Linked DNA regions of Homo sapiens: region 2 is linked to region 1. Evidence: promoter capture Hi-C in human tissues and cell types (Jung and others, 2019). All regions are on one chromosome and are shown on one strand. Each heading gives the region's core, a stretch centred on a gene start or on the middle of the fragment in contact. The rest is flanking DNA. Distances are from core to core; before and after follow the strand shown.

Region 1 (3,873 bases), core at 773-3,272:
GGACAACTTGGCAACCCTGTTGCCTGTTCTCAGGCAAGTTGCTTGGCAACCCTGTCCTCAGAGCTCCTCCCCTCTCGTTACCCTTCCCCAATGTGCTCTCAACGAAGCTAAGGCTCCACACTCAGTCTCTGCATGTCTTCTTCATTTGTTCCATTCAATTTATTTCCTTCCTGTCCTAATAGGCAGAGCAACTCAATGTTGTCCTAACACCTATTTGCAAACATGTACCCCAAGTCCATTATGATGCTCAGCCAAACACAGGGTCTCCTTCAGTTTAGCCTTCTTTAGAAGGAGTCAAGAATAGACAGCCAGAATGTTTTTCTTGTGACATGTATGTGCATTTTCCTCCATTGAGCATGCAGTCAAAAAAAGCAAGGATTGTGTCTTCCACATCCATGCAACCTAGCAGAGTGAAAATATATACCAGAAACCTGTGCTCAGGGCTCCTCTCTTCCAGGGATGAGGACAGTTCTAAGCCCTTTCTGTCTCTCAGTTCTTCTTTCCTCCCAAGTAAGGCCCAGGACTGGAGTTACGGGGAAGCACCTGAAGACAGAGTAGGAGTTTAATAAATAGCTGTAAAATGAATGAGTCAGTGACTGAAGAGGAAAAAAAGAAAGGACAAGGAAGAACTTTGAAGGCACCCTCACCAAGATTATTTCAGCCTAGCTGAAGGAAACTTTGAGAAGCCACCCAGGGTGATAGAATGGATAAGACCCAGAGGATAAGAGGAGTCGCAAACACGGGGTTCTGGTATCAGCTCTGTCTTCATCACTGTGTGGAATCTTAAGGAGATCTCTCAGCTCTGTTTCTCATCTGTCTCACCAGCCTGCCTGCAGATAGCCTAGTATGGACACCACCCAACAGGGTCCTCAGGGCTGTTTGACATTCGTGTTTGAGGCTTCTTCCCCAAATGCACAGACACCCAGAGCCCCTCGGCGCCTCCACACTCTGCGGAAAGCTTTTCTTGGCTGCAGTGCTGGCCCGGGGACCTTCACTGCCCACTGGCAGAAAAGAATTCTCGGCTGTGGAAATGAGTAAACTCCACATATTTTAAAGATGACAGTCTAAACTCCTAATGACTCTAAATGTGGTGTGAAATGGACAGCAGTCATCTTGCTGTGTGACATGCCTGAAATAGTGTCACCACCACCATCACCCCCTCACGTGGACATGCACGTCATGGAAAGAGAAGCAACAAGTCATAGTGCCTTGGCTAATGTAGCTCCCCTATTCCCCCCGACCCCTCACCCCAGCGTCTTTTCTGTGCTCTTCTACATTTTAAAAAAAGAAGAGATCTATTTATTCTGCAGGAATACAGTCCAAGGTCACCTAAAAGCAAAGGAGAATGGGAATTAAACACACCCAGAGACCCGACCCATCCAACAGAGTCCAGCTCAGGCAGGCTGTGCCAGTCTCCACCAGGCTACGAGGGGAAAACCTTTTCGAGTTGAACTGCCACCAATCCACTGCCACCGAAGTCAAGGTTGTCAGAAATGACCCTCTGGACAGGGCTAGTGATTTGGATCCTAGAGATACTGAGTTCCTGGGAAACAAAGAGAACTTGTTGATTTTGTATTTTTATTTTTTCTTCGATTTGGTCGGGATATTACGGTAGCCTTGACCAGAGTTGAGAAAAGGAAACGCCCAGTCGGTATTTATTTGTCAAACAGTTGTCCTTTGCCTCCGGGGTCAGGGGCCCTCTGGTACCCACCACTGTTGCATCCTCTCCACACTCCTAAGCCTGTAACTCCTCCTCCCAAACCGAAGCCCTGTCAGTAAAAAGCGTCCTAATGATGCCCGCGCCCTAGTTGCACCAAAGGGGGTCAGGTTCCCATCGAGCGGATCCACATTCGTGTGTGCGCACGCGTGTGCATGTGTGGAAGCGCGTGTCTGTGTGTGCCGTGTGTGTACGCGCGCGCGCCGGTGTGTGTGGCGGGGGCGGGCTCTGCGCCCGGGGGCAGGGCTCCGCAGTGAGAGTGGCAGCTGGACTTGCCAGGCTGCGAGGGGCAGGGCACAGAGCCGCAGTGCCGTAGTAGCGGGCCACGGAGATAGACAGCTTTGGAGCTGCTGAACTCCGAGCACAGGGTGAAGACCCCGGCGCTACCAACCACAGCCTGGCAGCCTGGTCTCCGCGGCACCCACTGGGGCTGCATCCCCCTCCCCCGAGAGGGCTGCGCAGGCGGGAAGACGCCCAGAGGCCAGCTTCGGTCCCCCTTCTGTCTCTCGGTTCCTCTTTCCTCCCAAGTAAGGGAATAAACCGCGAAGAAGGAGCGCCCCGGGCCACCGCGCAACCAAGTGTTGCCTGGTGAGGTAAGACGGCGGCCGGCGCGGCGGAGGGGGTCCCCGGCTCAGGGAGCACCCGGTGCAGCAACTTGGTAAAGGAGGGCAAAGCGGGAGCCGGTCCCGCGGCCAGGGAAGGGGCTGCAGCCAAAGCCACGGCGCCCACCCCGACAGTTCCACCTGCCACAAAGCCCTGCAGGAAGGGATGCCCCGCTCGAGGGGTGCAGGCTTGGGGAACGCACAGGGTGGGGCTCGGCTCTCTCTGCGACTGAGAGGCCCCCTCAAGCCTCAAAGCTGTGCGGGTGGGAGGCGGCCTTGCTCCAGGCAGTTTGCTAAAGCAACTGGTCGGATTTCCTTCTTCTTCTGGACTTAACCTTGGCTCCTTGATATCCAGTTCGCGCTCCAGGCAGTCCGAGAAGCAGGAGATGCTTTTCCTAATGTCTGGCCGCCAAAGCCTCCGACCGTCCCGCGGGGTTCTAGGACTTTGGGGGCACTCCACAAAGCCCCTGCGCAGGGCGACTTAAAGGGAAGCTGAAGCGAACACGGACACCTCAGAGAATAAAGGAGGGAAGGGTCGAATCTGAGGTTGATCTGTGTAGTCTCAGAGTCACAAGATGTGTCCGTGTGTGTGCTTGTGTCCTGAGGAGTGCGTACCCGGAGTCACCTGTGGTGCTTTCGCAGACTCCACCGGTCCACCTCCCCTTGCCTAGTCTGAGATTTTCTTCGTTTGAACTAGTGGAATAGAATTAGGGGAGGGGGCTGTGGAGTTCTAAAAAGCCCTACAGGTGATTTGACGTGCTGCCCCCATCCCCACCATCACTGCAGTGGAAAGCTTGGGACTAGAGCTAGAACCACCTCCCAGATGGGAGGGATGAGCTGCGGAACTCAGGGTGGCGGTCGAGACCCCTCCCCCAGTCGCCCCCCGCGGCGGGAGCGTCTGCTGCAGCGCGAAGCGATCTGTGGCTGCGCCGCAGTGGTGCCCGGGAGCGCTGTGAACCCGTGGGCGCGCTCTCCCGCGCTGCGCCGCTGCCTCCTCGGACTTCATTAGCATACGATGACCTCTCTGTGGGGAGGAGGGCCTGGGAGGGCTGTTTGTCATTCCTTTATTTTGGGGGCTTGGCGACGACACTTTGGATCTGGAGGTGAACACCAGGGGTCATGATGAGAGACAGTGGTCAGGACACAGGACTGGAAACGACCCCTCTGGTCTGGATGGGGGAATCAACTTTGTTATTTTGGTGCTTGGGATTCTCTGTCTGTAAAATACAGCTGGCAGAGCCACTTGCTGGCACACAGGGCACCCTGGTTGTCAATGAAGGAAATTAGATCATAGAGGGCAAATGTCGAGGTTTGGTCATGAACCCAGGCACAGACACACACCCCTTTATATTTTATGTCCCTCTCACTCTCATTCCAGGCATGTGTCTAACATGGGAAGGTACTTAACTGTTTGTCATATTAAAAGACTACATTTGCTGGAGATTCCATTCCGAATATGAATTATACTCCTTAAATAAAACGGCTGCAACTAAGCCAACTTCCCGGTCGTACTCCTGATCTATGTCTTTTTTGCCAATCACCCTTAACGTTTAC
Region 2 (4,433 bases), core at 200-2,699, 190 kb before region 1:
GTGATAGGTGTTTGAACTAAAAACGCATTTGACATTGGGACTGGAATAGCCATCATGCTTGTTAATGAACTGGAATTCTAAGGGATTAGAAATTCTGAGGCCAAGCCGGGCGGATCACCTTTATAAGGTTTATATAACTACCTAATTCCTTTTGGGGGATGAGGCAGAGTATAAATACAAAATAATTAAAATATAGAAATTTTAGATCTTGTGGAATCTCTTTATTAAGAGTGCTTTCTTTTAACTTTTTTTTAGAACTGGAATGATTACAGTCACCAAGCTTTTGTCTATGATCATCTGTCTGATCTCCTCGAGCTGCTTTTAGATCCAAAACAACTCACTGCATCATTTCATTCAACCCATAGTAGTCTAGTGTCTCGAGAAGCTGTTGTGGCGCTCAGCTTCCTTATTGAAGGTACAATAAGTAGAGCCAGGAAGATCTATCCACTTCATGAACTTGCACTGTGGCAACCACTGCATGCAGATAGTGGCTTCTCAAAGATCTCTAAGACTTTCTCTTTCTACAAACTGGAAACCTGGTTGAGGTCCTGTTTGACTGGGAATCCATTTGGTACATCAGCTTGCCTCAAGTCTGGAAAGAAATTGGCTTGGGCTCATCAAGGTATTTTTTAATATTTTAATCTACATTAAATTGAATGACAACTTAAGGAACCTAGTGTTTTCTAATATATTAGTGATCTCGTGTCTTCTCTAGAAGACCTAAAAAATACTGCTCCTATAAAAGAGAAAAAGGAACATCTGTCTTTTGTGCATGACTTTTTCTCTCAAGGATTATACTAAAATATTAAAAATGATAGTAGGATTACAAATTATTTTTATCTTCTTTTACTGTTATTTTTCTAAATAACCATATATTATGTACCTGGTACATGTGTAATAAAAGTAAACGTATGTAATAAAAATAAACAAGAAATGTTTTAAAAGAAGAAGAATAATAGCATACTCATGTGACCTCCCAGTATTTCAGCGGTGTTGTTTACAAGGGTGTCCCGGTGGCTTGCAGGGAGGTACAGTCTGAGAAGGCAGTCACGTAACGGTGTGACTGTGTTAGGAGAACCTGCGCGTATTTTTTGAGTGTCAGTTTGTGCAACACACTGTGTGGGATAGGAAGATGTGCTCTCAGGTAGTAATGATCTTAGGAGTAAAGACATGAACTCAGGCTGGGTGCGGTGGCTCACACCTGTAATCCCAGCAATTTGGGAGGCTGAGGTTGGCGGAAGGTGAGGAGTTCGAGACCAGCCTGGCCAACATGGAGAAACCTCAGCTCTACTAAAAATACAAAAATTAGCCAGGCGTGGTGGCATGCACTGGTAATCTCAGCTCCTCAGGACGCTGAGGCAGGAGAATCTCTTGAACCTGGGAGGTGGAGGTTACAGTGAACTGAGATTGCACCACTGCACTCCAGCCTGAGTGACAGAGTGAGACTCCGTCTCACAAAAAAGAAGAAAAAAAGGCATGAACTCAAATAGGATTAATGGGATAATGTGGTAAGTTAGGAAGGGTACAGAATTAATATTATGGTAATTTAGAGAGGTGAATTACGTTTGGGATGATAAAGTAAAGCATCTTGGAGGAGAAGATATTTGAGTTAGGACAGCTTTGCCACTTACTAGCCATATGACCTTAGGCATAGACCTTAACTTGAAGCGTAGACACGAAAAAGTATCTTAGACTTATAGGCAATCTTAAATTCATTATAGGTTTTAAAATTTTTTTTATAACAAAAATGAAAATTCCAAACATACAGAAAGGAATAGAGAATAGTATAGCAAATACCTCTATCCAAAGCCCAGATCTAACGTTTTTGTCCCTACATGTGGTATCTAATTTGAGACATATATACATGTAGACGTGTAACCTCATATGTTTGTTTGTTTTTCTTTGATTTGATACTGCCTCATCTATTTATATGTTTTCTTAAATAGTTGAAGGGACCACCAAAAGAGCTAAGATTGCTTGTAATACTCATGTGGCCCCTAGGATGCACCGACTGGTAGTGATGAGCCAGGTTTACAAGCAGACACTGGCTAAGAGCTCAGACACTCTGGCGGGGGCACATGTAAAGATTCATCGTTGCAACGAATCTTTTATATATCTGCTCTCTCCCTTACGGTAAGCACAGTTTTCATGGTGTTCTGATGTTCTGACATTTTCTTTGGACTGTGACTGATTCTTTTTTTGCCATCAGATAATAATATTTTAGTCAAATTTTTAAAATCTTATTCAGAGGACTTTACCTCATTTTTTCCTTTTTTCAGATCTGTGACAATTGAGAAGTGCAGGAATAGCATCTTTGTCTTGGGCCCTGTAGGGACTACACTTCACCTCCACAGTTGTGACAATGTTAAAGTCATTGCTGTTTGCCATCGTTTGTCCATCTCTTCTACAACAGGTTGCATCTTTCACGTTCTTACGCCTACACGCCCACTTATTCTCTCTGGGAACCAGACAGTAACTTTTGCCCCTTTTCATACACATTACCCAATGCTAGAGGACCATATGGCCAGGACTGGCCTTGCTACAGTGCCTAACTATTGGGATAATCCAATGGTTGTGTGCAGAGAGAACAGCGACACAAGAGTCTTCCAGCTTTTACCACCTTGTGAATTCTATGTATTTATTATTCCCTTTGAAATGGAAGGGGACACAACAGAGATACCCGGGGGTCTTCCATCTGTATATCAGAAAGCACTGGGTCAAAGAGAACAGAAGATACAGATCTGGCAGAAAACTGTGAAGGAGGCTCATTTGACAAAGTGAGTATTTTTTACAAGTAACAGTTTGTGTTTTTTGTGAAACTCCATGGAGAAACAAATTAGTCTGCACATTTTTACAGCTGTGCTAAAGTAATAAAAAATGTAAGGCTGGGCGCGGTGGCTCACGCCTATAATCCCAGCACTTTGGGAGGCCGAGGTGGGTGGATCACCTGAGGTCAGGAGTTTGAGACCAGCCTAGCCAACATGGTGAAACCCCGTCTCTACTAAAAATACAAAAATTAGCTGGGTGTGGTGGCGTGTGCCTGTAATTCCATCTACGTGGGAGGCTGAGGCAGGAGAATTGCTTGAACCCAGGAGGCGGAGGTTGCAGTGAGCCAAGATCGTGCCATTGCACTCCGGCCTGGGCAACAAGAGTGAAACTGTGTCTCAAAAAAAAAAAAAGTAATGTGTTTTTAAATTAAGGTTTGGATTTCAAATTAGTATTTCAAACACTGTTAGGTTGGGGATGGGAGTGGGTAAATATCCAGTATTAGACTCCCTTTTCTTAAGAAGCTAAAGTTTAGTTGGCAAATATAAGACTTACATGAATTTAAAAAATCATACATAGAGTATGCCACATAATCCAATACCATTCTAGGCACCTTCTATGTGCTAACTCATTTATTCTTTGTAATAACACCTTATTACAGGTGAGGAAACCGAAGAACTGAGGAATTAAGTACTTTACCCAAAGTCACACAGGAGCCAGGATTCACACCTAATCAACCTGGTTCCAGAGGTTCTTTTTTTTTCTCTGTTCTGACTTCTCAGTAACCAGAGGTTCTTAAATGCCTCTAATGTCTTCATTGTTTTCTTTCAAATATTGTCATACCATATCATACTGTACAATAATAACATTATAATAATGTGTTGTAAAAATGGATGATCATGAAAAAACATTCTTTTAAAGCAGTTCTGTTGTTTGAATGGTTCTAGTATTTAAATGGTTAGATTCTCTACACTTGATCTCAGCCAAAAGGCCAAGAAACGATGAAGTGCTTAGATTCTCTTACATGTGAAAAGCTCCTGCATATACATGTGCAGACTGTGGGATGTAAGCACTTAATAAATGCTGACTCTGAGTCAGTGTTTTCAAGTGGTGAGATCCACAGTGATCCCAGAAACAATGAAAGTAGTCAGTTTAACTTTGGGAATATAGGAAGACAGAAATCAGTTTGAAACAAATTGCCAGTGTGACCCTTTTAACAGTGATTACATCATGTCATTTCCCTGCTCTGACCCCTCTAATGGCCTCCCATCATACTTCAAATAAAATCCAAAGCCTTTACCATACTTACCAGGCTCTCTCTTCCTCAATTTCTGCCGTTCTTTTCCTCATTTCCTCCTTCCCGGCATACAGCAGTCATCTTACTATTACTTAATCACTGCCCTCTGACCAAAGACCACCAGGAACACATCTATAGAACAAAGGTGGATTGTGTTGACTCATGGCAAGGAGGGAGAGAAGTGTGTTTCATCTCAGTAAAAGGTTGGGGAACATGGAAAACTGTGTTTCAACTCAGTAAACAGGTGTTAAAAGGAACTTATCGTTGGATTTTGGCTTGTGTTAATGATTTGGGGGAGAGTTCTAGGAAGCAGGACTATCTGGAAGTGAGAGTAATGTGTGATTTGACAGTTTAATAACTTTTATATCTA

What was found. Contacts are between HindIII fragments. The study calls those that stand out against the background at their distance.
Region 2: a fragment that was not itself captured here is called in contact with the fragment with the promoter of DGKG in region 1 in 1 of the 25 tissues and cell types used here (thymus).

Annotation. Positions count from the first base shown.
Region 1 is chr3:186,360,383-186,364,255 of GRCh38, reverse strand. DGKG (diacylglycerol kinase gamma) reads left to right here and starts at 2,022. Exons shown (of 25, transcript NM_001346.3): 1 at 2,022-2,310. RefSeq lists a silencer at 1,863-1,952 and an enhancer at 2,737-3,254. The HindIII fragment of the contact is 4,334 bases long and covers 1-3,873 here.
Region 2 is chr3:186,552,598-186,557,030 of GRCh38, reverse strand. TBCCD1 (TBCC domain containing 1) reads left to right here. Exons shown (of 8, transcript NM_018138.5): 4 at 256-622; 5 at 1,947-2,133; 6 at 2,280-2,777. Among named protein-coding and RNA genes, the nearest start is that of CRYGS, 10 kb to the right of the region's middle. RefSeq lists a silencer at 4,037-4,331 and an enhancer at 3,621-4,433. The HindIII fragment of the contact is 6,724 bases long and covers 1-4,433 here.